Linked DNA regions of Homo sapiens: all the other regions are linked to region 1. Evidence: promoter capture Hi-C in 16 types of primary human blood cells and fetal thymus (Javierre and others, 2016). All regions are on one chromosome and are shown on one strand. The core of a region is centred on a gene start or on the middle of the fragment in contact, and the rest is flanking DNA. Distances in the headings are between cores, read along the strand shown. Region 1 holds the start of NR2F1-AS1 (NR2F1 regulatory antisense RNA 1). Region 2 overlaps MCTP1 (multiple C2 and transmembrane domain containing 1). Region 3 overlaps MCTP1 (multiple C2 and transmembrane domain containing 1). Region 4 overlaps MCTP1 (multiple C2 and transmembrane domain containing 1). Region 5 overlaps MCTP1 (multiple C2 and transmembrane domain containing 1). Region 6 overlaps MCTP1 (multiple C2 and transmembrane domain containing 1). Region 7 overlaps MCTP1 (multiple C2 and transmembrane domain containing 1).

Region 1 (4,291 bases), core at 773-3,272:
GTTGGCAAGGATGCCCCGTAGGAGTGCGAGCCGCTCCCCTCCTCCGAAAAGCCGCGGGCTTCCGCTGCTCCGGGCATCACCACCAACAGCTTCCCACTCCCACCCCTGGGACTAGGACAGGGGACTTCACCCTCCTCCTTCCTTCCGGAGGAGCCCGCGGCTTCGCCTGAGGCCTCGCGGGCCCAACTTCTCCCCACCGCTAGGGTCACGCCGGGTCCCAGGGGCCTCTTTCAAGTTTGAAAGCTCTGTGGGGGCACGGAGAGCCCACAGTAAGGATGGGTGGGCGCCTCTGCTCCCGGGCAGGCTCAGCTGTCATCCCGTCTCGCCTTGGCCCTCACCTACAGGGCCTGACCCCGGGCCAGCCCAGCTAGGCAAGGCCTCCTCGCTTCCGAGACCCCCCAGCCCCCGGGTGCAGTCCCCAGCATCGGCTGCCCCCGCCCCCCGCGCGCCCTCTGACGCAAACGCACGCCCCTGCCCCGCACGGAGGAAAGCGCTCTTGTTGGTTTTAATTGAGCCTCTTCCTTTCAACACACCCCCTCTGTCCCCACCCCTGGGAGGCGACCCCCTCCCCGCCCCCAGCCGGCTGGCAGCGGCGCAGGGAGTCTGGCTCGGCTGCTAGGCTGCGAATCCCGGTGCTCTCTCGCCGCCGCCGCAGGTTGTCTGCTCGGGAGAGCGGCTCGATGTCCCTTTTAATCCGCTGACACTATCGCCCACATCAGACAGGCAGCCATCGATCGCGTTACATTAGGGGATGGCGTTACAAACGGCGTCCGCAGGTGGGCGGCTGCAGCCAAGCTCGCCAGGTTCAGGCCGTAACCAGGCAAGGCGCGGGCACAAGGGCCAGCCGGGCCGGACTCTGCAGCCGGCTCCACCGCGGGTCGCGCTCGGCACCAGCAGGAACAGCCGGGCCGGTGTTAAACGTGCGGGTCCCCGTCCTCCGCCCGGGCATCCGTTTCCCGCCTAGGAGAGAGAGGGAATAGCGGGTGGGGGTGGGAGCAGCCTGTTTTGAATGTGGATTGCTGCTCGCCTGGCACGATCCTCCCCTCCAAGGAGGCGCGGCGGCCGCGATCCTCGCCTTAGCGCTACGGCGAGACAGAGGCCGAGCGAGGGCAACTCCCGAGCAGGCCCCGAAGAAAGTTCTCCTCGTCCCGCCCTGGCTGCCTAGACTCTGCTCTCGGCCTGCGGAGGCCGTGCGAGCCAAGACTGCCTCCCGGCCCTGCCCGTTACCAACCCCAAGTTCAAGAGAAACGACAACCATTATGTTACTTGCCTGGTGAGGCAGGATTTGGCCGAGTCTCGTTTCTGGTGCCCACGACGCACGGTCCAGGGTCCGAGGGCGGCTGGGCCGGCGGACTGGGCATCCAGTGTGCCTGCGGTGCCCTGGCGCTCGCTGTCGCTGGTCTCCCACTCCCTTCGTCTCTCTCCGCGTTCTCCTTCCCTCGCCCTATCTCCCTCTCTCCGCCTGCTGCCTCTGCCCTCGACTCCCTGCCTCTGACTGTATGGGGAGTACGATTTAGAATCTGTACATAGAAAGGTTTTCTTTTCTTTCTTTTCTTTTGGTCTATTTTAATCGTGTTCGTTTCACCTTTTAACTGACCAGAAGACGGGAGCGCGTTTGCGCGTTTATTTGGGCATAGGGACGAGGGCAAGGAGCCCCTGCTACCCCCAGTCGCCTCCTCGCCATCAGCTGCGTACAATGGGCCACCGCTCGCGGAGTGCATTGACAGTTCTCCATTATTCGAGCTGGAGGGGCTGTGGGGCAGGCACGGGAAAACCTTTTATTCTGCTCTTTAAAATCATCGCTCGTCACTAAGCGGTCGCCGACTCCCGACTTGTAGGCTGGAGAGACCAGGAAGCGCAAAACGTCCCCCAAACACGCAGTGCTTCCCAAACCCCTCCCTGGTGAGACTTAAAGTGAGAACGAGTATTAAAAAACAAACCCTACCTCTGTCAATACAGCGTGGCCATTTACTTCCACCTTTACCTGAGGGCGTGTTGGCGCTAGGAATGCTCGAGCTGAGACAAACTTTTACGCCCTCGCGAGTCGAGGGGCGGGCGGGCGAGCGCGGCTCCCACCCCCGGCGGCGGCAGCGGCGGCTTTGTCACTCCGCGCGGCTCCGCGCCCGCCTGAGCCTGCCTAGGGGAGCGATCTCAAAACGAGGGGGGTGCGAGTATGCGATTGGAGAATATGTAACTAATAGAAGTATCATTTTCCCCCAGTACGATCTTTCAAGGAAAAAAAAATCCATTGAAAGAATTTTCAAAGTGCTGTCTTCGTTTGGAGAAAAGGCACAGGCTGCCTGCGGGGAGGGGAGGAGGGACTCGGCTGTGTGCCGCCCGGGAGCGGCTCCCGTCCGCTAGGTGGCAGCCGGAGCCAGCGATTCCTGCAAGCCCCGCCGCGGGACCCGCTCCTCCCGCCTGCCCCTCCTCCCGCGACCAATCACCTTCAGGATTCAGGAATCGGGGTCTCGGTCTCTCTCTCTCTCTCTCTCTCTCTCTCTCTCTCTCTCTCTCTCTCTCTCTCTCTCTCTCTCTCTCCCCCTCTCCCTCTCCCTCTCCCTCTCCTCTCTCCCTCTCCCTCTCCCTCTCCCTCTCCCTCTCCCTCTCCCTCTCCCTCTCGTCTCTCTCTCTCTCTCTCTCCTCTCTCTCTCTCTCTCCTCTCTCTCTCTCTCCTCTCTCCTCTCTCTCTCGGTCTCTCTCTCTCTCTCTGGGTCTCTCTCTCTCTCTCTCTCTCTGGGTCTCTCTCTCTCTCCTCTCTCTCTGGGTCTCTCTCTCTCTCCTCTCTCTCTCTCTCCCCTCTCCTCTCTTCTCTCTCTCTCTCTCTCAATATCTCGCGCGCTCTCCTCTCTCCTCTCTTTCCTTTCCTCTCCTCTCTCTCTGTCTCTCTCTCTCCTCCTCCCCCTTTTCTCTCTCCCTCTCCGCCTCCCCCCCTCTCCATCTTCTCGTTTGTTTGCTCTTTTCCCGGGACTGACTTGGCCACACTAATCTCCCCCCACCCTGCAACAATATGGGGACTTACTACTGTTTTATTAATAATGATTGAAGCATTGTTGGAGTTTGGAACAGCCAGGTGATAAAAAAAAAAAAAAAGAAGAAGGAAAAATTGGATTGATTGGAAAGTTTATTTTTAAAATCATCTTTGGGATAAATAGGAACCCTTGATTCCGATCGAATTTGTGGCAATAGCTGCAAATTCCAGGAGTGTGCTTTGTCATCATTAAACCTTTTAAACCAAGGTATACTTTGGATTAAAAAATAGGGAGATCCTACCCTGTTTCTACTTGTTTCTAAAAAGGATATAAAATGAGCAGAATCCAGACTTGGATTGTGCTTATATGTGAGAGAAGAAAACAATCCAAATCCAGTATATTTCACAAATCATTAAAATGGTGGGGGTTTCATTCCCATTAAAAATTTTTCCAAACATTTTCAATGACACTCTCTTCACGCTCATAAAATCTAATTTTAAAAACTTTTCAGAAGAAATCAAAATAATTTCCCTCTAATTCTCCTTTTGCCCATCGCTAGGCGTTCTCCCCCTCGTCATCCCTTCCCCCTCTGGGGTGTGAGCGTAAGTGTGTGTGTGTGTATGTGTGTGTGTGTGTGACCATAGACGACCCATACTAATCAGGTCTCAGAGTAAATAGCAGCGCAGGGCGATCTCAATGTAAATTGCGCTTGTCAGAAACACACCCCCCTCCCTCACTTTCTCTCCTCCTCCCCACACCATCCCAGTCTGTAGGTAGCTAAGCGGGGGGGGGAGAAAGAAAGCAAAAGAGGAGGGGGGAGGGGCTCTCCAACCAATGGCGTGCAGGAGGCTTGGCTAACCTTAGCCTCCCATTTTCTCTCCCCCCGATTCAGGGCTCTGACCAGTCAGTCGCCTTTGATTATCAGTTGCCAGCAGCCCTTCTCTTGGCTCCTTGACACGAGCTCCATATAAGGCAGCGATCTCCATAGAAACGTGTCAGTTTCAATAGTAGTGTCAAAGTTCACTATATACAGACATTCGCGCAGATCCCCCTTTCGGAAACATTGCTCTGCGAGTCCTCCCGTTTAAACGCATTCAATTTTTGGGTCTCTCTCTCTCTCTCTCTCTCTCTTCTTCTCTTCTCTCTCTCTCTCTCTCTCCTCTCTCTCTCTCCTCTTTCTCCCCCCTCTCTCCCTCCTCTCCTCTCTCTCTCCTCTCTTCTCTGAACCTCTCTTCTCTTTCTCTTTTCTTACATATTCTACTAGTTGTTTTCCCCTTCTTCTTCTCCTTTCTCTCCTTTTTCTCCCTCCTCCTTGTCTCTTT
Region 2 (4,291 bases), core at 1,126-3,625, 1.3 Mb after region 1:
ATAGCTTACTGTAACTTCCAAATCCTGGGCTCAAGCATTCCTTCCACCTCAGCCTCCTGAGTGGCTAGAACTACCGGCATGTGCAACCATACTTGGTTAACTTAAAAAAAAATTAAAATTCTGTAGAAAAATGTCCTGTTATGTTACCCAGGATAGTCTCTGATTCCTGGCCTCAAGTGATCCTCCAGCCTTGGCTCCCAAAGTGTTGGGATTACAGGCATGAACCACCACTTTCAGCCTAATTATCAATATTAAATCTCACATTGTTGGATATATAACACTCTTCAGACTTTGGGGATAAGAAGATCAACATTAAACTAATTATTTTTTTCTACTATTTTCCTCTTGGTGAGTTTTGGAAATTGCATGGGTTAGATGAGGATTAAATTACCTAAAGACTATTTTCTAGTATTTATTTCAAAAGACTACTGTAGTTCTACATAAGTAAAAGACATACACAATCTTTTACAGTCAATCAAATTGATGACTAAAAATAAATTCAAAAGTGGAAATTTTTCTTAAATTTACAGTTTTATTTGCTATTTTAGTATGCACAGAAGTATTGAAACTTCAATAGAAAAAACAGATCCAAATGATAAAATCTATTTCACTTCATAAATTAATAATGGTGGTGTTTTATAAGTGTAGCACTTGAAGGAATTAAAAGAGGGAAACCAATACAATAATTCAGAAGTCTAATTAATGGGCACAAATACTTTGAGAGTAAAATGAACCAACAGAATGCTAATATGCATTTGTTTATTTACACTTCATAGCATTTTTCTTATGACACGATCAGCACTTCTACTCTGTAAATCAAAGGTACTTCTTTTTCATAATTTATAAAATGTTTCATAACCAGAGAACGTAACATACTTTTGCATTATAAAGTTATTAAAATGTTACTAGAGTAAAAAGCATTCCCATCATCATATTAATAATGTGAGAATACTGACAAGCAAAAGCTTACTGCAATATGAACTTTATCAGTCCCGTATGACCAGTAATTGTTTACACTGAAACTATGACCTTCGTATATTGAGAGGAGGAAATGCGGATACATGAGTAATCTCATAGCCTAACTTTTTATAAGAGTGTTTAGCATGAGGATTAACTGTTAATCTTTTATTGTTTTTAAACAGTTGTTTATCACCAAAAATCTATTTAAAATACCCAGGTGACAAGGTTCAGTAAAAATGCACTTCTCTCTCCATTTAAATTCCTGTAAATGAAGGGTTTCACTGTGGGGGCGTTAGACAACAGAATATAATTCAGAGGTTTGTGGGCACGTTGTGTTCCTACAGTAACAGCAAGTTTGGAAAGTTTCTTATCTCAGAGCTTACACAATGTTGTAAATCAGGTAAGTCTTCGACCCTAATGATGGGGAATAGTTTTATCAAAAAAAGGTTTCCGTGCTTTAATTTTCAGAGGCAATTTAAATCAAGTTCTATTTTGACTAAGACGAATATAATCAGTCCTTATGTCTGAGAATCCTTTCACATTGGTAGCCTCATTCCACAGACATATTGTCTTCAGGTGCTTCGGCTCTGATCCTCTGCTTCCCATTTGGAGTGGTAATTATTGTTTGAAGGTTTCATTTCCCCAAGTCAGCTGACACTCCATAATTTATTGCAAATTTCAACGGTTTAGGCCAGTGACACATCGATTATAATAAGAAGTAAAAATAAATAAATAAATAAATAAATAAATAAATAAATAAATATATTGGTTTAAAAACATAACTTCATCAAGAGGTATTCATCAAGAGGTATTCCTGCCTTGCTATTTACGGTTATTTTAGAAGGCCTAAAAACCCGGATGGCTTCTGAAGCCAGAAATTTCCATAGCAGAGGAATCTATGATTTGCTGTGAATCCTTTCAGCCCTCAATAGATGGGAAAAGATTGAAATGCTCTGGAGAGGAGTCCTCTTTATTTTTTTAATGAAAGGCTGTATAATATATTTTCTCTATGGCTGCAGCAGCTGTCAGGGAGAGCATCTCAGTTCAGCTCTATTACGGGAGAGGCAATACCCCATCCTATGGCATCGAGATGCTCTGAGGGGCCAGAGCTGATTGACAGCTTGTCACCGTGACGTCTTATTCCATCTCTGTTATGGAGAAAATTAATGTCACACCACCAGCCTTATGACTCGCTGTCATCTTAGAACCGCTCACCTTTTATCAATGCTCTAAATAACATTTCAAGCCCATCGTCTCACGGTGGACAATCCGGTCAAGGGACATTAAATCAGATGACTGTGAAATGTCATAATAAAAATGGAATGCTAACAACTTCTTCTCTAAACTAGCTCCTCTGGTTTTTAAACTGTGACAAGGGGGAGCAAGGGTTCAGCATACCCGTTCTGAAAAGGTCATACAATTGCTCTTGGTCTACTACCCATTACTACCCGCCCCCTATTGACCTTCCCTCATTTCCTCCCCCTAAAAGAGGAAAAAAGAAAAATGGAATTAGCCATCTTCTCAGAATGTGGTGATCAAAAAATGGCTCACAGAGCGATGTTTGTTTAATTTGTGGGGCTTCAATCCTTAGCAATGAACAGCTAAACAACAGCAATGGAGGGCTTTTTTTAGGGCTGTTTCATATCAGAGTGGGGGCAATTTATTTGCTTCCCTGACAGTGACCAATGTCAAATTCCTAAATTTGACCTCAACTTTTAAAAATACACATGTTCTTGCAGGAAAATATAGAAATAATTCTCCAAACAACCTCCATTATATGTTTCTCCAAAACAAATGATATTTCAGAAATGATATGGCATTCATTCATTCATTTCATGATCCTTATAATAAAAGGGAAACACACTGAAATCCTAATCCATAGGTCTTTGTCCTTTTATGGATATGAGTAAATATAACAGATGTGCTATGTTGCATATAGTGGTTTCGTAGCAGGTATGTCTCTAGAGGGAGGTATAGGCCTCTGCCTGAAATTCAAGGCTGAAAAAAAGTATATTTAAACATAGTTCATTTTTGAATATATTGAGCAGAATACAATCTGAGAATTAAGTCAAACATCCGCATAATATTTTACATTTTATTGAAAAAAGACATGGAAACAAATATTCAAATTCTGAATGGAAATGGCCAATTGCCATTCAGCCATCCAGCAAAAAGAAAAAAAATTAATAATAGGTGGATTACTTCTAATTACTTAGGCAGCAGTATCCCTTAATATACGGGATAATATCAAAATATTAATCCATCAACTATAGTATAATGCCTAGAAGAATTTTTATATTAATATACTGATTAATTCCATTAAAATTGTTGTAATTCATGAGGCTCACTTCTGGTAACAGAAGAATATATTTTGGTGGATACCACAGTGTAAAATAATCTTCATAACTGCAATTATATATTAGAAGATGTCACACAATATCTTAGGCTCTTAGGTGGTTTAAAAATATATACTATTTAGCCTTGCTAAGTCACCTCTATTAAACTGTTTATGATAACACCATTGGTGGATGAGTTGTACAAGCATTAGCAGACAGCTGATTCAGTGGAGATAGCCAGAATAAATTTGCTGAAGCGCACATCCTGCTAATCTGTTTGAAGAATATTGTAGAGCATTAGTACCAGCACTTCATGTTATCTGCACAGACTGATAAGGTACATCTTTATTAAATTCAGTTATTGAAAGGATGTCAGTCAGCAAATAGGAATATTTTAAAGTCTAAAAAAAAAGTGGTTCTTTGTTAGAGCTTGGTTTCATGGCTGAGTGTCTAGAGGAGCCTTCTAAACACCTGGCGGCACTGTACAATACAAGCTTTGTCATTTTAAGTGGAAAAGCTTTTTTCCCAGCTTCATGGGTACTAAGGCATTTACTTTTTCAAACCTTCATTGAGAGAGAATGGTGGAGTAAGAGCTCCCCTCTCTGTTGATTCAAGAAAACTACATGGTGGGAAATGTCCAGCGGGAGGATGCTGGGAAATAGTAAGATTTGGTTGTGAATATTTCAGTTAGGTAAAATTTGAAGAGGGTAGTCATTTTAGTGATTCACTATTCCATACTATCGTTCCACATTCGATCAAAAAGCAGAAGACTTCCTTTAATTCTATTTCACATTCAATTAAAAAAATTAAAGGAATGAAGTGAGGCTTTCCTGAGCAGCTGAAAATAAAAATCATTCCTGTGGATACTCTTTAGTTACCAGCGTACTAATTAACGTAAGTACCATTAACTCCATCGCAAACTTGGAAAGACAAAGACATTTTAATTGCAGCTACAAAGAATCAATAAATTAATTTTAAAGTCACATTGTATAAAC
Region 3 (4,291 bases), core at 648-3,147, 1.3 Mb after region 1:
ATATGCGAACTACAGAAAATCCAAACTAAACTTTACCACCAAGAGTATAAAAGTAAATGTAGTTGAACTTGTATTAACCCTCATTTGGAGCATGCATTCACAGTGGGGTCAATGTGACATCCAAGGGGGTAAAAACTGGTTCTTGAGCTGGGGCGGGGGGGAAGCAACAGAAATCTTAGATGTTTGTGGCCCTCTAAAGCTCAATATCCCCTGAGAAAATCTTATCCCTTAGTATTTAATTTCTCTCAAGTGAAATTTTTCTCCTTAGGGCAGTGACTATGAAAAAAAAAATATAGAGAAACACTGATTTAAGATCAAATAAAGGCCACACTTTGTCTCTAAAATATTTTATTCCTGTCCTTAAAATGAGAGCTGACTTTGATTTATCAAATCCAAATATCTATTTGCACTTTGATATGCTTTCTGTCTTTCCTTGCCTCTTAGTTTTCTCTGATTTTCTCTTCGTTATTTCAGCTATTTGAGCCAATAGCTGATGACTACTCTGTTATTGATCTCTCAGTGTTACCACTTGCTGAGTGTTGGACCTCTGTCATCACGGCAAAGTACAAGATGCACCAGAGTCATCACTCACAGACCCACCTGTAGCAAAGCCTGCTGTGTCTATCCCAATTCTCACTACAATTTAAAATGTGATAAATGATGGCAAGAGAAGGGGCAAAGTAAAATGGGAACAACTTCCTTAACATTTCAGGTTAGCTTCTTGCTTGGTAAATTAACGAACACATTCATAATTGTAACGAATATCTGCACATCTAGTCAACACAGGAAAATTGGACAACAGAAAGCATTCTGCTCCTATTTCTTAATTTTTACCTGATAGAACGGGGAATGAAAACACATGGAGAGTGAACTTAATGACTAAAGCATATTAATGACTGAATCTCTGTTATAATTTACAACCCTTCAGAAGAGTTATTATTCCTACTTTACAACATTTTACTAACATAAATTATATAATTAGATCATTTATTTAAACTTTTTCCTTTGCAAAGTACTTTATTTCATAATATGTTGCAATGGAATATGGCTTGCCAATTTGCTCAGCATGTCTGTCCTTTACGATTGAAATCACAATTGCAAAGTAGAAAATCCTTCAGAAGACAAGAACATTGGTTTAGGAATCTGGGAACAGGTAGTGAGACATCTCTGATTCATTATTTAATAATTTTTTGATCCTTAGTCAACTCAGTTGTAAAATATTGACCATGTAACAATTTTTAAAGGGTCTTATAAAGGTCTGGGGGGCTGAAACTACCAGATAAGTAATGCAAGGAGGAAGCTTGAAGTGAAGTGGGGCAGCATCCATACAGCCAGGAAAAACACACCGAGGCTTTGGTGTCCTCCACCACGCCAACTTTTATTGATAGCACCATTGAGGCACATGAGAAAGCTAATTCTTAGATTCAATATGGTATCATAATTATGCTGGTGATATTTGTAATTTTTTGACTATAGCATAGCATAATAGCACTATACCTGAGAAAAAATGAAATCATTTTCTTTTCCTCAAATCACTCACAGAAGAAAAGTTTTCAAAATTATAGCATTCTACTACTTTCCACGTTACAGGACAAAGGCGGAAGAGCAGCGATCATAGGAAACATGAGTTTCCTCATTTCATGAGAAAATGACCTCTACAGGGATTAAATTCTTCTTCTTGTAAATATGAAATAAAATCTAGGAGAAATACGCCTTTCAGAGAGTAGCAGACCCTGTGGCTTATGTGATTATCTCCCTCCAAAGAGCAGAAAGCCCTTTTGCTGACATCTATTAAAATAAACAAAAAAGGGCATTGGCATCATTTAAAGAGAATGAAGCACTGATTTGAGCCAAGTGTTGCACTGTGGACTTAGCAGATACAAAAACAAAACAAAAATAACTTCACAATTAAATAGGCCCACAAACTGAACTAGAGCCTCACTCCTCAGGAAAGATTACAGAAAATATTTGGTTCTGTTATTATCTGGCTTGCTATATTTCCTAAGATTCAGGGTTGATTTTAGCCAATAGTGACCAAACCTGAAACCCAGCTCATTTGTACCTTATACTCTTTGGGGGCCTTTTATATAATTGCAGGAATTTATATGTAATGCACTATGAAAGGCAATGCTTAGGAAAACCTAATTTACAATTTTTCATGTAATTTTGGACAATGTTTGAAAAAAATTTCTTCTCCGGAGTTGAGATAAATTGGGCGAAAATGTATATTTTGAGTAGCAATTTGATGTACTAGCATGTCCAGATGAATTGGGTGCACAATCTATTTACTGAAAAGAAAATTGTGGTACGAGAAACTTCTAAGTGTCAATACTTCTTGACTCTGCAAAAGGAAGTTAGGGCAACCTTAAAAATATATATCTTTTAAATCAGTGAAATTTTATATAGGTTTTCTTCTTCCCTTACTTGCACATTTGTGAGAAAATGTTTAACGTAGCTTCTAAATCTGTATAGATTAAATTGGAAGTATTGTTTAGTAAGCTTAGTAGGTGTGTATGTCAGAGGAAACATACATGAAGAAAGATGGGCAAAAAGGCTTAGGAGTTTATATTTACAAAATTTTAGGGAAATTCATGAATATGACAGTAAGACCACCAATTGTAGATCATTTTGGCTTTGTACTTGTTTCTCTGGTTTTCAGGAGTACTTCTCTTTTGCTGTTGTGTAGAAAGTAACAAAAGTTACATCTAGAACATTTCTAACGTTTCTGCTAGCGCTAAAAAAAAATTGTAGCAATAACAACAAAAACTCTTCTATAAAAATCATTTGAAAATTGCCATAGACTTGAAGCGTAATTTCATTGCTGTGGTAGTACTATTGTCTCTTAAATTTTCAGAATAGATATTTCTGTTATAAACTTAAAGTGACCTTCAATATGTTCAATGTAATTATCCTACATTTCATTGTGCCTTAATGTGAATATTAAGACTTAAACTACAGGTGATGTAGACATGCCTTTGTTTTCACATTGATACTTCTTCTTAAGCAATTCTCCCTTTTTGATCCTTGATCACGAAAGACACTTTAGATGTCCTTACGGTTTGTAATAACTTTTTAAAAATCCATATGTTGTTTAATAGCAGCAGACTTTCTGCACGAGAAGGAAGTACATGATAAGTGTACTGTAGGAGCCTATTGTCTTTGGTCATTATTACATTCCCATTGCCTCTGCAACTCCAGTTCCTCCTCCTTTGCTGTGCTTCCTCCACTTTTTTTTTTTTAATCATTTGGCTATACAGAGCTGCCTCATGTCATTCTTTGCATACAACATCTTTGTTTTTTCTCTCTTCTGCATAATGGCCCAGCTTTCTGGGAGTAACTGTTGTCCCGAATATGATCCTTTACTAAAATAGGGATTGAATAAAGGTGGAGCACAAATTATCTGGAAGCAAAGGAAAACTAGGCATTTCAAAAGGACCCAGAAAAAAACAAATAATGAACCAGAGTGGCTTCGATGAATTGCCATAGAAGGAATTCTTGGTTTTGACACAAAAGGAACACATGAATACCAAGGAAAACCTAGGGAGAGAATCTCAGTAGGAAACCTGCCTCGTAGGCTGCTCAGGACAGAGGGCTGAAGCCAGTAGCCCTCCAGATATGAACAGAAAGAAATGTATTTTATGACTAACAGTTAAACATTCAAACATGCCGTTTTTGGAACACAAGGTACTTTGAGGAGTTGACATCCCTTCATAATTCATGTTCATTGTTCCTCTAAGTAAAATATGTATCTCCCTTTAGTTATTCTGTTAGGAATTGTACTTTAAAGGCAAGAGGACATTTTTGATAATGCACATCTTAAGATGTTTCATTAAAGTACCAAATTTAAATTCTACCTTTTTGTGCACTCTGACATTTTTGTCTGGCATTTTCATTAATTTTGCGACATACATAAATGTAGCTGAAATGTTAACTGATCAATACTTTGTCTCTCTCATGTAGCACTAGCGCTCCGTTCCCCAAGGACTACACAGCAGAACAGAAATTAAATGTGTAAAATATCAAATGTTAATGTTAAACACAGCAGCACTTACTGTATAACGACAGAAAAGGCTAAAACAATTCCAAATGGACAGATGGTACCACAAATTATCTACAATCACATTTAAAGATTAAAGTTTGTCCTGTAAAATAATTCTTTGACGCACACTGAAGTGTGTCCTTTTACTGATAGCTCAGTTGTCCAATTATTTTTGTGCTCATTACAGTGAGAAATGACAGTACTGAAAAGAAAGAGAAAATGTGCACTCTTTCTTCCCCCATGTTGCACCCA
Region 4 (4,291 bases), core at 841-3,340, 1.3 Mb after region 1:
TTTGGGTTGGGAGAGGAAAAGATCTCACACTTAGTAATCAAAGAGCTGGATTTATCAGGGCTTACCACCTATGTGTTATTGGGCAAGTGATTCAATCTCACTGGCCTTAGTTTTCACTCCTAAAATGGAGTTCTACCATGAGACACAAGTACTCTTGTAAGAATGAAATCATATAATATTTGCAATATAGTCTAGACAACAATATCTCCTAATTTCTATAAAGGTGGTGTTGCTATCTGGAATATAAGAGATTTGTTTTGAAGCTGCATCTGGATACTAAGCAAGCTGTTTTTGCTGAGCAGCTAGGTTTATTTGAGGTGGATTTTGGGGTGGGGGGAAGGTGAGGAAGGGAAATTGTTGATGGAACATACCACCCTTAGTGGCCACTTGGCCATTTCATATAGAGCAGCTAAATACTTGGCACAGAGTAAGTACTCAATGTGGGCAGCATCTTTGACACTGGGGTGCCAAAGGAGATAGAAAAGCATAGAGCTGGCTGCTTGGCATGTGACCGAGGCTTAAAGGTGACGAGTAGGTGTGCCCTTCCCTTGTACTTCTAGGGTTGCCAGCCCAGTCCACCCAGGGAACGGAAACAGGAATAGAAAGGCATATCCCCAGGACAGAAAGGTGCCACTGAAAATAAAACAATGGTGTTGCCAAGAAAGTACTTATGTTGACAATCTCGGATACAAGGATAGCAAAGGTAACTTCAGTCACAAATTTATGGTCAATCATGAAGATTGGCATTTCGATTGGAAAAGTTCTTAGGATATAATTTTTTCCATTAAAGCCAGCTGAAAAACAAAGCTGATTTTTCTATGCTGTTGCTACTTACCATTTCATAGTGGCACAACTCCCACCCCAAACACTGTGGAATTATATTCAGAATAGATTTGTTTATCAGTTCTTCTACCCTATCCATTTTTCAGCAGCTGATTAGTCTCCCTGGGATGTAGACACATCTCTGATCAACAGCAGCTTGACTCCCATCTTCACATATGCATCCCAATATCCACATTACTCATAATAAATGTGCTTATATATACATATATAGATACATTTTTATGCATATATGTTCCCCACATTGTATTCAAAAACACATTCTGAATGGATGTATATATGCACTCATATACATTCAGGAATCCAACTAGATTCCCAGAGGGGAATGTGGAACACATTGTTAAAATGTCTGTCATCCATGTAAGAGAAACAGAAATGAGCTGGGCATTAAATTTGCATACAGCCCCGAGCACAGAGGTTCCTGTATGTGCACCGTTCTACTGTTCTTGATGATGGGCATATCTGATAGAAAGATTCTGTCAGGATTAGCTCAGGAAAAACACCCCCAAGGAGATAATTTGAAGACATCCTGAGAATTTGCCTCAGTACATGAAAATAAACATGAAACCCTTAGCACTCTCTGCACATTGAAAAGTTCCCACCAACACCCCACCACACACCAGGGGATAATCTACTGGAGCTAATTAACACACAGTCATACGCAACGCTGTTAGAAGTGGTTGCCACTTAGGATTGATTTAGTTGCTGCAGTGCTTAAAAGAGACTTGAGAAGGTTTTTGTGTAAATGTGAGAGGAAAGAAGAGGAAATAAAAGTGTAAAAACAGCTGCAAAATTAAAAGGTGCTAAGGTCTTTTTTTCCCCCTGTAGACATTAGGGAAACTTATTGAGAGACTATTAGTATTCCAGCAAAGAAAGCTTCTTACTTGATTTTATGTTTCCTTCCACATCAAAATTACACACACACATACTGGGTCTATAGATTGTGACTATGAAAAAGGGCATGTTTCACTTCATAAGCAAACAAGCTCTTCTTTAAATGCTAACATATGGATTGTGTCATCTAAAAAACAACAACAATCTTTTCTTGTCTATGTCTCATTTTATTTCATCTTTCTGATTTATTTAGATTTTCAGCAAAGTTATTAATTAGTAATATGTTTGGGGAAAAAATCATCAAGGAACAAAGGGCCACAAGCAATTCCTTCCTCTTATCTTTGCAATATGATAAAGATAGAGCAAATCCAACTATTTTAGAATGTTCTTCCTCAAAGTGAATGTGATGCATGCTATCTTATGAATAAACAATATATCTACTAATCATGACAGTAGGATATCACAACTGAGTATATAAAGTGGTTTTAGCAACCTGCTTTTTATTACTGAAACATGATAGAAATAATATAGAAAAGACCATTAGTGAAAACTTTATTAATCAGGCTTTGTGAAAATTTAGAGAAGCTGCAATTGATTTTTTGCCCTGATAAAAGGGTTTGCTAAAGAAAATTATAATAACATAAAAAGGATTTCAGGGGACAGAGTATTTGCTTTGGATGTGAAAACTCTCTTATTTTAATGATACCATTAATATTAAAAACAATGAGAAAACATTCTTGATTCCAAGTGATTCCACTTGGCTATATTATGCTTTCCATTGGATGAAAGATAAAGCTTATATATAAAAAATTCTATGAAATATATTTTTTATCAGTCTAGACTGGCCTACAAGATAAAATTTAACAAAAATTCATCGACATTGACAATTTGCTATACATACAAAGCCCTCTACCACATCCTGAGTAGAATTAACAAATGCAACCTGTTCTCCATCCTTTAAAGGCTCAAACTCAGAAGGGAAGACAGACACGTTCACAAAGAATTAGGGAATGGCAAACAAGTACAGCTTGAGAATCAACTCTGAACAACTGGTAATGGGTACATAGAGTGGTTTTTTGAGGATTACAATCGTGTGTATGTGTATAAACACATATGTTGTGATCAGTTTACAATGTCTGCCACAAGAAAGGGCATCAGAGGTGATGGGATGTAGGCGATTTGTCTGCTAACTCTGGCCTAGAAGATGGAATACATGGGTGGGATAAGAAAGGAGTGTACGTAAGACACAAGGTTAGGAAGTTAGGTTGGGGTTAGATAATAGGCTTTCCCTCAAGGTTGGTTCTAATTAGTGAGGTTTTATTTTAAACATCTTTCAAAAAAACAATGAATTGTTAACAATGTTTTGGAGGCCATTAGTTGTGTCTCTTTATAAGAATTTTAGAGTGGTTTATGTAGAAAAGAAGAGCACTAACAAAATAGTCAATACTAAAGCTAAAGACACAAAAGTTCAGAAGTGTCACATAAATGCAAGTAAGAGATTGCTTTGAACTGGACACAATAGTAGAGAAGAGTTCATGGGGTCTGGGAATTTGCAATTTGGGACCAGTGCATCTGAATAAGGAGAATTGACTGATTTATTAGGTAGAGAGAAAGGTTGTGTTTTTGCAAAAATAATGTAGTTTTTTGTTTTGTTTTTGCTATGTCTCTAAATGTTCCAGTAGATTAGCTGGAAGCAGCTGCTCAGGCTGTAGAATAGACACCAAGTACCAAAAAGGACTGTGAAAGGACACCCTTGGCCGGGTGCGGTGGCTCATGCCTGTAATCTCAACACTTTGGGAGGCAGAGGCGGATGGATCACCTGCGGTCAGGAGTTCTTGACCAGCCTGACTAACATGGTGAAACCCTGTCTCTACTAAAAATACAAAACTTAGCAGGGTGTAGTGGCGGATGCCTGTAATCCCAGCTACTTGGGAGGCTGAGGCAGGAGAATCACTTGAAGGCAGAGGCAAAGGTTGCAGTGAGCCGAGATCGCGCCATTGCACTCCAGCCTGGGCGACAGAGTGAGACTCTGTCTCAAAAAAAAAAAAAAAAAAAAGAAAAGAAAAAGAAAAAAAGAAAGGCAGCCACCCTCCTCTTATATTTTATTTCAGTGATGGGAACTGACAAGGCTTTCCATTTTCATTCTTTAAAAGAAGGAGTTGGAGAGTTAAGGAAATTTACATTTTTTTCAACAAACGTGGACATTTCATTTGTATTCATTTTATTAATTTACTTCTACAGCTACACTCATCCACTCTAAGAGTAATAAAACCTGTGAGTGCTCCTTTAAGAGCCTGCTTTTCTTTCTGGGCTTGTGGAGGTAGAGAGTCATGCAGGAGGCAATGAAAGAGTAAGAAGGAATGAAGGGCATCAGGATGTCAGCCTCAACGGAACCCAGCAGCTCCCCAACTGCTGGCTGTAGGAACACTTTTCTGAACCTCTTGCACTCACAAGTTTTACTTTATATTGATGATTTTCTAAAAATAGATCTTCACTATTTCTTTCCCTTCCTCCCACACCAATTTCTGGTTTCTTTTTTCCATCTTTTGAGACTGTCTCCTTCTCTTTTTTTCTTTTCCTTCCCTCTCTTTATTCTGTTTTTCCTTTTCCAATTTGC
Region 5 (4,291 bases), core at 1,158-3,657, 1.2 Mb after region 1:
ACACTAGTTTAGACAGCAAGCAAGCCGAACTCCAACTGTTCAAACAGCCTGACTTTTACAGTAAAAGGAAAGGCCCTGGGCCAAGACCACTGAGATGAGCAGGTATTTTTAGTTCACTTGTAGGCCAGCTCTAATGTAATTCTGAAATGTTTTCTTCAAACCAAACCCGACTTTTTCAGGGCTGTCCAAATCTGTTTTCTTTTATAGCAAGTACAAATTCTTGGAGCAAGGGAAGCATGCGTATCATTTGCAATGCTGCTGCATGTCTATGGTGTTGATGCCCGATGGCTCAAATTAGTCCGCAAAACAGATGAGCGCATTGTAATTAGCTCTTGTCAAACTGTTAGAAATACAAAAACCAATTCCACTGTAATAAAAATTATGAAAAAGAAAAATCTCTCCTATCATTTTCAGCCAAAATAGTTCCTGAAATGTCTGTAGTTTAGGATTCCAGAGTTCTAAAAGAAGGCCATTTCATTTTCAGAAAAGCTTTCACTTCATTGACATGGAGATGCCGAGATGTATTATCTTTCAGGCATTTTTCTCATTGTAGCTGATTGCCCATAAAGCCCTGTTTCTAAAAATGACCTGTCAGGAGTGGACATATTTTGTTGAGCCACACGGTACTGATGTACAATTCTCAAGAAACATTTATACTTCTTTGAGTACTGTTTTAAAGAAAATTTTCTGAAGTTTTTAAAATCAATGATTTACTGTGATCAATTTTCCAGAATAATTGAATATTGCATTCTATTTAAACAAAAGGGGATATTAAGCAGGCATTAATCGTAGGTTCAGATGTGATGTCACACTCTCACATGATGATCCTCAGTTTCTTGTTCACAATTTACTTGAATATTCATTGTTGGGACACTGACTCTAAAGACTACTTTGCTCAATCTTTTAAATTATTCACAAGCTTCAGGAAGGTTTCAGATCTCTCTGAAATTTAATGTCCTCTCAAGGAAAAATGTGAGCTATTGGTAGATGGCTATTGTAAAAAGCAAGTGTAAACATGAACCAAAAGGTGGTGCTGTTTGTGATTAGGTCAGGGATACGAAAAAAAAAAAAAACCCAAAAAACTAAAACTAAAACAAAACAAAAAAAAAACCCTTCTACATGTCTTCTGAACTTTTCCAAAGATAAATTCAGGTGTATTTGTGGGAATGAGCACAATAACGTAAAATGAAACTATCTTTAAAAGTAATAAAATTACTATATACAGAAAATTCAGGTGAACACCTGTAGTCTTAGCTACTTAGGAGGCTGAGGTAGGTGATCGCTTAGCCCAGGAGTTCAAAACTGCAGTGCACTGTGATTGAGCCTGTGAATAGCCATAGCACTCCAGCCTGAGCAACACAGTGAGACCTTGCCTCTTAAAAAAAAAAAAAGGTGATACAAAATGGATCATAGAACTAAAACCATAAAACCTCTAGGAGAAAATATTTGTGGCCTTGGGGTAAGCAAGGTATTTATTCACAGACACAACACCAAAAGCATTCTCTCTCTCTCTCTCTCTCTCTCTCTCTGTATAAATGTCTGTGTGTGTGCGTGCGTGTATATATAATGTATATTTAAAAATTTGGCCTCATTAAAGTTAAAAACATTTGTGCTCCAAAAGACACCATTAAGAAAATGAAAAGATAAGCCACACATCGAGAGAAAATAATTGCAAATAATATATCTGATTAAGGACTTGTATTCAGAGTATGTAGAGTACTTAATACGAAGACAAAAACCCCGTTTAAACAATGGGAAAAAGATTTAAGTAGACATTTCACCAAATAAAACATCTGAATGTCAAATAAGCACATGAAAAGATGTTCAAAATCATTAGTTACTAGGGAAACGTAAATTAAACCACAATGGGATACCACTTCACACCCACTAGAGTGGCTGTAATCAGGACAGAAAGCACTAAATGTTGGTGAAGACACAGAGAAACCAGAACCCTCGTATGTCATTGGTAGGAATGTAAAATGGTAAGCCTACTTTGGAAAACAGATTGTTAGTTTCTTAAAAATGTAAACATACATTTACCACATTAACCAATAATTCTACTCCTATCAAAGAAAAATGAAAACATATGCCTACATAAAGATACATACACGGATGTGCATTGCAGCATTATTCATGTTATTCCCTAAATAGAAACAATCCAAATGTTTATCATCTAGTAAATTGATAATCAAAATGTGCTATATCCAAGGAATACTATTCAGTAATAAAAAGAAGATACCTGTAATCCCAGTACTTTGGATGGTGGATCACTTGAGTCCAGGAGTTTAAGACCAGCCTGGGCAACATAGTGAGACCTTGTCTCTACAACAAAATTTTAAAAATTAGCTGGGAGGGGTGGCGCACACCTGTCACTTGAGTTTGGAGGTCAAGTCTGCAGTGAGCCATAATTATATCACTGCATTCCAGCCTGGGCAACAGAGCAAGATCCTGTCTCAAAAAATTAAAATAAAAGAAGACACTACTGACACATTCTACATCATGAACTCAAAATCACCACACTAAGTGAAAGAAGTCAGATGTAAAGGACATAGTGTATGATTCCATTTATATGAAAAGTTCAAAAAACGCAAATCCCTAGAGACAGAAAACACATTAGTGGTTTCCAGGAGCTGGAGGTGGGAATGGAGAGGACTGTATCAGTCATGAAGGATCCTCTGAGGTGATGGTTGTACAACTCTGGAAATTTACTAAAAACCAGTGAATTCTGTACTCAAAATGGGTGAATGTTATGACATATAAATTATATTTCAGTAAAACAAAATTTCACCTGTTCTTTATATTTCATTTAAAATAAAAAGTGCTAAAAATAAATACACAATACACAAATAAATAAATAAAAAGTGCTAAACTTTTGTGGGGGTAAATTCCAATACAAATAACTGAGAGAAACTAGGCTGAGAAAGTTAATGGTAAGGAACCTTGGGTGTATCTTGCCAACACTTCCAAAATATTTTAAAATGCTAGTCGATGACACTATCCACATGATGATTCTTTGGACAGTTGGTCCTCATTTGAGTTCAGAGAAGTTTCACTAAAGCCACTATAAAATAGCTAAAGCAAATATCAACATCAATCTTTGCTAATTATAACTGGAAAAGCAGGGTCCTAGAGGCAGGTGATGGAAAGTGGCAATATAATGCTACCACCATAAGGTGAGGCTATCACGCAACTATAATAGTTCTAAATTCCTATGAAAAATATAATCAGTTAAAATTTTTTGAACTCCTTACTTTCTAAATAAGAAATGGCTGAGAATATGAAAAAAATGCCAAGGAAAACTCAGTGAGAGAAGACATGGAAAGAAATAGAAAAGGACAGCTTAGCCCAACATGCAGAAAGAAAAAAAAAAGTTAAAAGAAAACAAAAACAAACCTTGGCACAGGAGAATGAGGATAGTGTATTCAAAGTCATCTTCTCTGCCCTGAAGAAAGCACTACTGGATAAATATGACAATGTTTCCTTATTTTGTAATCTTGGGTGAGGAACTCTTTTAATTTGGGCCTAGAGTCTTAGGTTTTCATTTGCATTCCTCAGTGATGTCTGTCGCCAAGTTACCTATAGTACCACCTATCAGGAAATAAAACTCCTTAGCCCCACATTCGTCTACGGGAAATACAGCAGGAATACATGTTATGAGGGATTTGTTTTATTTTTCCGGTCAGCAACAGTCAGTGCCTCCCTTAGGTTGGTTGGGTTTGTTTTTCTCAATATATTACATCAAGAAAATAGAAACGAAAACTGCTGAACACAGCAGGACAAGTGAAATACACCTGAAAACCACTTCCAACTGTTTTTATGCCAGCACTTCCAAAATTCTAGGATAACCCCATATCTTCCTATACTGCTACAAAACATTTCTTAATATTTTTCATGATAAAGCTTAATACATGTGTTTGTTAGCTAAGTTATATAATATCAAGCATGGAAAAGCAGGTGGGCCCTGGCAGATTTCCCCTTCTTTCTACAGCCAATTTCTCTATCTATCAATTGCTGCAATCTAAACTGCCTCCCTGTTCTACTGTCAGCTTTTCTGGAGCTATTCTATCTCCCAGGGAGACAGGTGTGGCTTTGTTCTCTAAGTGCATGACACTGGGCGAATCCAGCTCCCCTTTCACTAGTTCAGTTATGGCAACATTGCACTTCTTTCATTTATGTCTTTGCCTTTCAGATATGTTTGACCACACTCCTGTCCAGAAGTGTTCACCACATTTCTCGCTCTAATAAAGACATCCGCTCAGTGGCAACTCTGGATTCAGGGTTTACTAGTGTA
Region 6 (4,291 bases), core at 927-3,426, 1.2 Mb after region 1:
TTGTTTCTCTCACTAGACCACAAACTGTCCTGGGCAAGGCGTGTGTCTTCATCATCTTTGAACCACAGTTTGTACTGTTAGTGCCTATAAATATTCAATAATATTTGTTGAATGAAAGTAATTTTGCATAAAAATTAGATAATTTTTATTTGGAAGGAAAGATCAGACTAAAATATTTTCATTCAAACATTTTTTGAGTAACTCAGAGCAAAATGGTCCGAGCCATTTTGCTGTGTTGAGATTAGACACACAAATGGAAGATTCAATTAGAACAATCTGAGGAGGACCCACAGTGAGCCAGTTATGATAATATACTGAGAGTGTTGTGATTTTTATTGTTATGATTTCTTTCTAATTTGGTCGTGAGGTCTGTCTCTTGAGAGTGACCATGAGCCACGATAGCCACTTTCTAGGAGTGCTCTGATGAGAGGAAAGTAAGACTCAGGTGTGTCAGTCAGACGAGACACATTAAGGAGGTGAACCCAAAGTGCATAAAACAAGAAATTTAGTACTTACTGGTCCCAGAGAGGTTAGGGATGCCAATGGGAGGCCCAGGGAAGGCTGGAGGCCACAGGGAGCTCAACCAGTGGGTGCGGCACGCAAGAGAAAAAGAGGACCCACCAGACTATGCCTTTATTAAGGTCCATGGATGTTATCCCGTGGCTGGTTTAAAGAGAGCACGAGGGGAAATGCTGACTTGGCTCCAGTGCTAACCATTAGGGTTCATCATGGTCAGCAGCTGTGGGGTGTGTTGGGTTAATAGGATGAGAAGCAAGTGGGCTGCAGCATAAACAACCACACAGAGAGGGTAAGCTTTAACTAGCCAAAGGGGACGGGTACTGCTAGGTTTCAAATAACTCATGTCGGGCCTTAAAATGGATGCCTAAGCAGCAACTATATGAAACAAATTTATGACAGACGTGGGAACTCAGAGGTGTGGGCTCACTTAACCTCTTAAGAGTATGAGTTGGTAGGGTCAGACTGGTAGTAGGGGGTGAGTGTCAGGGATGGTGCTCCAGAAGAAATAATAATGATAATTAGTGGTTACCCAGGCACAGCTGTATAAAATGTTAAAGGCTTAATGGGTGGCAAATTAATATTAACTACCAAAAACCTTCAAAATGCATATACTCTCACCCAGAAATTCTTCAAGGACTTTCCAAAGCATATTACCAGAAAGGGACCCAAAAATTTCTTTAGGATTTTCTTTATAGTATTGAGAAGGCAAAATATTTCAAGCGGGCCAGGCGCGGTGCCTCGCGCCTGTAATCCCAGCACTTTGGGAGGCCGAGGCAGGCAGATCACTTGGGGTCAGGAGTTCCAGACCAGCCTAGCCAATACGGCGAAATCCCGTCTCTACTACAAAAAAAAAAAAAAAAAAAAAGAAAAAAATACAAAAATTAGCCGGGTGCAGTGGCAGGTGCCTGTAATCCCAGCTACTAGAAGGCTGAGGCAGGAGAATCACTTGAACCTGGGAGGTGGGAGTTGCAGTGAGCCGAGATCACACCACTGCACTCCAGCCTGGGTGACAGAGTGAGACTCTGTTTCAAAAAAAAAAAATTGAAGGAAACATTTCTAAAAACAGTGTTTAATTAAGAAGACTGGTGCAGTGGCTCGCACCTGTTGTCCCAGCTAGGCAGGAGGCTGAGGTGAGAAAACTGATTGAGTCTAGGAGTTCGAGGCTGCAGTGAGCTATGATGGCACCACTGCACTCCAGCCTGGGTGACAGAGGGAGACCCTGTTTCTAAAATACACACACACACACACACTCATATAGTGAAAATTGTATAGAAATTAAAACTCGTGGTGGGCTGTTTTCCAGGAATATGAAGGATATTTCCAGATATGTTGCAGAATAAAAAAAGTAGGTGAGCTAAAATGCGTTAAAGGTGATTCAATTTTTATAAAAAACAAAATATGTGTGATAAGAAATATACATTTACATTTGTAAGTATATTTTAAAGAAAACAGTAGAAGGCATAGAAAGAGTATATAGAATATTTGGGAAACTACAAGTATACTCTGCTCCAGATACTCCTGTGACCACTGGGGCTACCCCACCCTGGTCCTCCTCTCCAGACCCACTATCTTTGAAGGTCTTCTTTTCCCAGGGTGAAAGGCCCCTCTTCCAGCACCTTTCTCAGGTGGGTCATAGCCCTCATGGCTGGACAGCCACTTCCTCATCGACGCCAACCGGCTTGCCTACAAGTCTGCTGTGCCAGTGGAGGAGCCCCGAAGACCATCCCAGGATGATGCACCCCATAAGAGTACAGCCTTGCAGGGGCTACAGCCACCCACAGTGCACCTGTGTCTTTGCCAGCCCCCTGCAGCTGCATAGACACCATGCATCACACTCAGACCTCAAACTCTTCATGTGCGGCACCTTGGGCAAGGATTTCAAGCTCTTCCACCACGCTGCACATCTGTCCTCAGTGCTCACGTGACTTCCAGGCCTCTGCCAAGTTCCAGACCCTGCCTGCACTGCCCTTCTCCAGGCCACCACATCTATCCCATGCTGTGCCATTCCCACACACGCTCTGTGAGTACTGGCTTTGCGGATATTACTGCCTTATTCTGGGCCTGAGTTTCTCCATCTGTCCAAAGGCAGAAGCATCACTCCTTTTTCCTCTTTTCCAGTTGTGTCATGAAGACAAAAGGGGTTGCCTTCCCTGAGCCTGTGGACTGGGTGAATAGGAGTTAAAGCAGGGAACACAGGCCTGTGAGCCAGCTGTGCTTCCCATCCAGCTGTGCTGTGCTAGCTTTTGCAAGTGGCTTGGTTTCCTGCTCTCCCAAGTGGCGAGCAATTGCTGTCCAGAAGAAAGTGATAACAAAAGAGTATGGCCATGGTCTGGTTCATTTCTGTTTCCTCACCCTTAGCCCACTACTCCCACCTTTTGCTCAATAAACACTGCATACTCCAAAACAAACAAAAGCAAAACAACAACAACAACAACATACACATAAACAATCCTGTTGGAATATTGGAGGGATGAAGCTGAAACTATGGTTTAAGTGGGGCCTGCTCCTTATGGGTCTTCTATGCTTGAAGATGTTGGGGAATACCTTTATTTCAGAACTGTCACCTTCCTACAGGTCTGGAGGTAAGAATAAAGGTACAACTGGGATAGAGTTACCAGATGAATATAGAACATCCACTTAAACTGGAATTTCAGACAAATTAAGAATATTATAAAAACATATAAGTGTAAGTATGTCCTGTTGTTATCTGAAATTTCCATTGAATTGGGCATCTGTGTTTTCATTTGCTCAATCTGGCAACCCTAACTTGGGTAATTCATAGGGCTCAGGGCTGGAATTTGAGGGAAATTTGCAAAGTGGAAGGCCTGGTCATCTACTGAGAGGGAGGGGACAGTGGTGGGGGGACTTGGGATGAGTGAAGAAAATGTAGAAATCTTGTTGGTGCAAATCCAAAGCCTGATGACGATGGTTATTAACATGTTGGGATGCACTATGTACAGCAAGTGATTATCTAACAAGGCTAAACAGTTGGTGAACAGCTTTGAGAGGGGTCACAAGGGATAAGCTTTCTACCAACATCTGATTGGCTGTTGATTCTACTTATTTATCCTAGTGATCGTGTTGGAAAACTAAAGGTCTGGTTCTTTTCATGGTCCTCCTCAGATTTTTTCAAGCTGATGACCTTTTGAAAAAAACTGAGAAAACTGCTGTTGAAATAAGCACGAAGAAGAAAAGAGTGATCATCCATTTTTAGATGTGTTTACAGGCTGTATGACTCAGTGTTGCTTCTGCTAAGAGCACTGAATATGTGGTCTTTTTTGGTACTGAGATGCAAACACAGGAAACTTGTGGTCTATGCTGCTTTCAGTGAATGATAAAACTCTTACTGAAGTAGAGAGAGTCTAACTGTATGTTCAGAGTGCTTTGCATATGACGTCCTCTCCTCTGTCAGCTTGGCTTTGGCCAGCCTCTTTAGATCCTGTTAGGAATACTTGACTTATTCAGTATTCCACATATTCCACCACAGACTTCTTTGGAATGGAGAACACTGGCTGACAAAATAATAAATGTGCTTGATTTATAGGAGTTCAAGTCAATCAGATGTTTCTTTGGTGGACCATCCCAAACTGTTCAATCAACAGCACTTATGGCACAGAGTGCTGCTCTTAGGAGCTTTATTTGTAGAGATAAGTGCTCTGGTTCTCACTGGAACAGACCTAATGGGAGACAATATTCAGTACTATTCTAAAAGGGAAATGAAGAAACAAATGCTTTGTCATGAGAAGGAGCTAACTAAACACTTCAGTATTTC
Region 7 (4,291 bases), core at 884-3,383, 1.2 Mb after region 1:
ATTTTGGTCTCATAGAAGTGAAAAGTAGAATAATAGTTACTAGAGGCTGGGAAGCGGGTGGGGTGAAGAGAGATTGGTTAATGGAAACAAACATACAATTAGATAGAAGGACTAAGTCCTAGTGTTCAATAGCACAGTATGGTGACTATAGCTAACAATTTATATTTCAAAATAGCTAGAAGATTTGAAATATTCAACACTCAAAGAAGTGATAAATTTTTAAGATGATATATATCTCAATTACCCTGATTTGATCATACATTAAAATATCACTTATAATCCATAAATAGGTACAATTCTTATATATCAATAAAAAATTGAAAAAACCAGTAACCCCATGAGGTTTTCATATCTATTATAGCTTTATATTAATTGTGGAGTATGATAGACCACAAAAATTACAGAACTTCTTGTGTGGCAATATTCTAACCAATAGAAGCACAGAACCAATAAAATTGAAGGAATACCTCAGACTGCCTACTCTAAAAATTTATTAGACTTTGTGGATCTTTTTCTTTATATAAAAACAGGTCGATTTTTAAACTCTGGGACTTTACTTGATTTTGGATTTGCCCCAAGAAAAAAAGACTTGTATTGAAACTTTTAAAATAAATGAACCATATCACCAAGAAAGATAACTCAGATGCCACTGGATATAGTTCAGTGAAGCCACACATTTCTTGAAGTTGTGCCCTCACTGACATCAAATGATGTCAACTCTACAGATATTCTGACATTTCTTTAATATTTACCTTTTTGTATATAATTTAATGAAAGTAGATACCTCTATTTATATAGCCAACTCCTGTTGGCAAGTTCTTAAAATCAAAGAATTCCTACTTTGTGAATTTCTTTTAGAATCTGCAGAGTCAATGTCTTTAAAATGGTGAAGAATTTCTTTGCCAAACAAAGTTTCAGGCGGAATAAAAATCTTGGCACCCTGGGTTCAGATGGAGCATCTGTGATGCTTGGCAACACATCTGGTTCTGCTGCTTTGGTGAAGAAACATGCTTCTCATCTCAACATGCAGTGGTGTCAGCCGTGTCAACGACTCTGCCAGCGATCCTGAAAAAATCGTGTCTATTTCTATGAATGTTGTCAACCTCCCGAGAGCCAGGGCTGACACACTGCTATTTCGAGAGTTTTTGTCAAGAAAGGGGAATAGAAGAGGAAATTCACTGCTGCAATACAGAAGTTAACTAGCTTTCCAGAGGACTTGTCTTGAAACATTTGATTGACTCTTAAATGAAAGTTCTTTTTTTGAGGCAAAGAAAATCCAACTATCAGAATAACCCAAAAGGAAAGAGTCCATTCATAGTTTGCTTTACTTGATGGACATTCTTACCAAGTTAGCTATGTAAAACTTTTCATTTAAATTATTTTAGCCCAACTGCCACTTTGGAGGGAATGTTGGAGACAGATATCTACCTAAACATTCCAAGACTGGAGAGGTGCTTCTGCAAAGTGGAACAAGGTGTAACAAAGCTTGACAGGTAGAAACCCACCACCAGCCGGAATCACTAGAAAACTCTTTGAAAGCTAGTTCTGTTTCCAATGACTTTAACATAGAGGCATGAGTATGTAATTATTTTTTTAAAATATGATGAAGCATTAATGATGGAGAGTTTTCAAAAGATGATTGCAACACAATATGAATTCGACAAGGATTTTGGAGAACCCCAGGATTCCTCACCGTGCCTAATCATCACCTAATAAAGCCACAGCAGATCCCATTGTGTTACTGTTTTCTTTCGCCAAGTCAGTGTTTCCAGCACTTATTGACATGAAACTGAAAAGCCATAGTCAAATGGATATCAAAGATAACAAGCCCATTGCTGCCTCAAAACTACTCCATAATATCACAATCAAGCCAAACACCACCCTTCTTGTAGAAGCTTGCTTTGGAATTGAATGAAACATTATTTTTTACTTGTAAAATTTGTATTTATCTCAGGTGTTTGAGGAAACAGGCATTAAGTTCAAGAGAACAGTGGTGAGGGCAACAAAGATGACTTTATAAAGATACTTTATAGTCTCTGTAAAATAATTCAATTTCCATGGCAAAAAAAAAGCACATAAAAAAGTTTGTGTATTATGTGTGTGTGCATGTTTTGTGTCCTCTTCTGGGGAGAAAGTGTAAATCTTCAGATTCTCAGAGTCTGTGACTTAAATAAGACTAAAACTCCCTGTCCTTTGAAGGGTAAAACATTTTAAGGAATGGAATTAATGTTGAGAAGAAGTAAAATTCTTCAGCTGAAAAATGAAGAAAACCATGAATTTCTTCTCTATTCGCCAATTAATAATATAGACTTCTAAACCAGAAAGTATATGACTGCATTAAAAATGGGCAATAACCCACTCTCATTTTTGAACAAGCTTTTCCAAAATCAAAATTAAGAAATTTGGATAAAAATATTTGCTTTGTTAGATACTGTTTTCAGTTTTCATATTATATGAAAAATTGTGTAGCTGTATTTATATAGACCAGTGGGATGAAGTTAATAATGACAAATGAGGAACTCAGATCTAGTGCTTTAAAATACAGTATTGTTTGGAGAAGTATAGGAAATGCAGTTGGAAGTTACCTGTACTAGTTTCCTATTGCTGCTGTAACATGTTATTATAAACCTAGGTGCTTGGAAATCACAAATGTATTATCTTACCATTCCATAGGTCAGAAGTCTGAAATGAGTCTCACTGGGCTAAAAATGAAGGTGTAGGCAGGGCTGCATTTCTTGTTTGAGGCTCTAGGGGAGAATCCTTTTCCTTGCCCTTTCTAGCTTCTAGAGACATTTTCTTGGCTTGTGGCCCGCTTCCTCCATCTCCAAAGCCAGCAACAGCAGTCCCCACCCCCTACCAGTTAGTTTGTGTTTTACTGATACCGTGCACCCTGTACTTTCCCAGTGGGTACCAGCTGTTCATTCTTGGTTATTTCTTGGTCTTTAGGTCCTTCTCATACTTGATGAGCCTGTGGGGTTCAGGTACATGCTTTCTTGGGGTGCAGATATAAGGGCTTGTACTTCTTGCCCTTGTAGACCGCCCTGTGGTTCTCTTTCTGAGTCTGGTTAATGACAGTGAGAACAAGGGGGTTGGATTGTGGACCCTGTGCCACCTGTCACACTGTCAATGTGCAGCTGGGAGAGCTCTACCTTTAGGTAGTCCAGCTGTCTCAGAAGCTCTTCCTTCTTGCCATAAAGGTCCTGAGGCTTGATCTTGGCCATGGCTTCACATGCAGCTGCCAGCTGCCATCTGCTCTGATGGCCTCTCCACTTCTGATCACATTAGGCCCAATCAGACAAACCAGGACAATCTCCCTATTTTAAGGTCAGATGATTAGCACCCTTCATCCTATCTGCTACCTTAATTCCTCTTTGTCATGTAGCATGACATCTCCATAGGTTCCAGGGATTAAGTCATGGGCATTTTTGATATTATTCTGCCTACTACACACTCCCTCAGTTGAAACTGTAGGAAAGGATTGGATATGCAGGAAAATAGTGAAAAGTAGTAGAAACCTAGAAATAAACAGTCTCTAGCTGGGGTGAAAGGTATATTCCCTTATTGAACTACCCTAAAGACTTAAAGATCATGTCTGAGGTAACCTGCATCTGTACTTTGACAATACCCCTTCCCCCGGAAAACCTAGTCATAAGGAAGCGTAAGGATGCCAAATTTGGAATCAGAAAAGTTGAGTGGTAGGTCTGGCTCTTCCACTTGTCTATATCCTTTAGCAATTCACTTAAATTTGGCTGAACCACAGTCTCCTCACTTTAAATTAAGTGGGTTGAACTAGATTATTTCTTGGGTACCCTCCAGTTGTAATGTTGCTATGATTCTAGATGAAATAGATAGTATTTCTGCGGACTCAAAGTGAGTGGGCTATCAGTTCAATGGGTGTTTAAGCACCAATAGGTTCACAAAGGAGAAATGGATCCTTCCCTGATTTTTAATCTTATTATTTGCTCTTCTCCCAAGTAGGAGAAAACAAGAAGAAATAGCCCTTTCCTGTCCAAACATCCCTCACCCCAGATCAGAATAGATAATAAGCAAATGGGACATATTATACTGTGACTGTAAAATATACCTCAGTTTACACCCCTGGCATGAGATGTTCCTATAATCTTTGAAAGAATATGATTTGGGAGGCTGGTTTTCCTCATTTGTTTATTGTAGCATAGTTGGGTTATAGTATTGCAATAAATATATCCAAGGAACACAAGGACTGTTCCAATTTTGCTCTAGAGCATGGGTGGGTCTATGCGGTTTTGATAGGCAGAATTCTAAGATGGCT

What was found. Contacts are between HindIII fragments. The CHiCAGO score rates a contact against its expected background, and 5 or more counts as called.
Region 2: a fragment that was not itself captured here is called in contact with the fragment with the promoter of NR2F1-AS1 in region 1 in 1 of 17 cell types (fetal thymus); the score reaches 9.1 in fetal thymus.
Region 3: a fragment that was not itself captured here is called in contact with the fragment with the promoter of NR2F1-AS1 in region 1 in 1 of 17 cell types (fetal thymus); the score reaches 5.8 in fetal thymus.
Region 4: a contact is called between a fragment that was not itself captured here and the fragment with the promoter of NR2F1-AS1 in region 1, in 1 of 17 cell types (fetal thymus). The highest score is 10.8, in fetal thymus.
Region 5: a fragment that was not itself captured here is called in contact with the fragment with the promoter of NR2F1-AS1 in region 1 in 1 of 17 cell types (fetal thymus); the score reaches 5.6 in fetal thymus.
Region 6: a fragment that was not itself captured here is called in contact with the fragment with the promoter of NR2F1-AS1 in region 1 in 2 of 17 cell types (fetal thymus and total CD8 T cells); the score reaches 9.4 in fetal thymus.
Region 7: a fragment that was not itself captured here is called in contact with the fragment with the promoter of NR2F1-AS1 in region 1 in 1 of 17 cell types (fetal thymus); the score reaches 8.3 in fetal thymus.

What each region holds. Positions count from the first base shown.
Region 1 is chr5:93,579,197-93,583,487 of GRCh38, forward strand. NR2F1-AS1 (NR2F1 regulatory antisense RNA 1) reads right to left here and starts at 2,023. Exons shown (of 8, transcript NR_186187.1): 1 at 1,946-2,023. It overlaps NR2F1 (nuclear receptor subfamily 2 group F member 1), which reads left to right and starts at 4,026. Exons shown (of 3, transcript NM_005654.6): 1 at 4,026-4,291. RefSeq lists an enhancer at 2,199-2,298 and a silencer at 2,419-2,468. The HindIII fragment of the contact is 7,751 bases long and covers 1-4,291 here.
Region 2 is chr5:94,890,066-94,894,356 of GRCh38, forward strand. The region is part of intron 11 of MCTP1 (multiple C2 and transmembrane domain containing 1); the gene reads right to left. Among named protein-coding and RNA genes, the nearest start is that of MCTP1-AS1, 86 kb to the right of the region's middle. The HindIII fragment of the contact is 2,825 bases long and covers 964-3,788 here.
Region 3 is chr5:94,860,597-94,864,887 of GRCh38, forward strand. All of the region lies in intron 17 of MCTP1 (multiple C2 and transmembrane domain containing 1), which reads right to left. Among named protein-coding and RNA genes, the nearest start is that of MCTP1-AS1, 120 kb to the right of the region's middle. The HindIII fragment of the contact is 1,199 bases long and covers 1,299-2,497 here.
Region 4 is chr5:94,840,592-94,844,882 of GRCh38, forward strand. The region is part of intron 17 of MCTP1 (multiple C2 and transmembrane domain containing 1); the gene reads right to left. Among named protein-coding and RNA genes, the nearest start is that of MCTP1-AS1, 140 kb to the right of the region's middle. The HindIII fragment of the contact is 753 bases long and covers 1,715-2,467 here.
Region 5 is chr5:94,811,397-94,815,687 of GRCh38, forward strand. The region is part of intron 17 of MCTP1 (multiple C2 and transmembrane domain containing 1); the gene reads right to left. Among named protein-coding and RNA genes, the nearest start is that of MCTP1-AS1, 170 kb to the right of the region's middle. The HindIII fragment of the contact is 2,981 bases long and covers 918-3,898 here.
Region 6 is chr5:94,789,750-94,794,040 of GRCh38, forward strand. The region is part of intron 18 of MCTP1 (multiple C2 and transmembrane domain containing 1); the gene reads right to left. Among named protein-coding and RNA genes, the nearest start is that of SLF1, 170 kb to the left of the region's middle. RefSeq lists enhancers at 3,491-4,291, 3,962-4,181. The HindIII fragment of the contact is 2,731 bases long and covers 812-3,542 here.
Region 7 is chr5:94,769,182-94,773,472 of GRCh38, forward strand. All of the region lies in intron 19 of MCTP1 (multiple C2 and transmembrane domain containing 1), which reads right to left. Among named protein-coding and RNA genes, the nearest start is that of SLF1, 150 kb to the left of the region's middle. The HindIII fragment of the contact is 481 bases long and covers 1,894-2,374 here.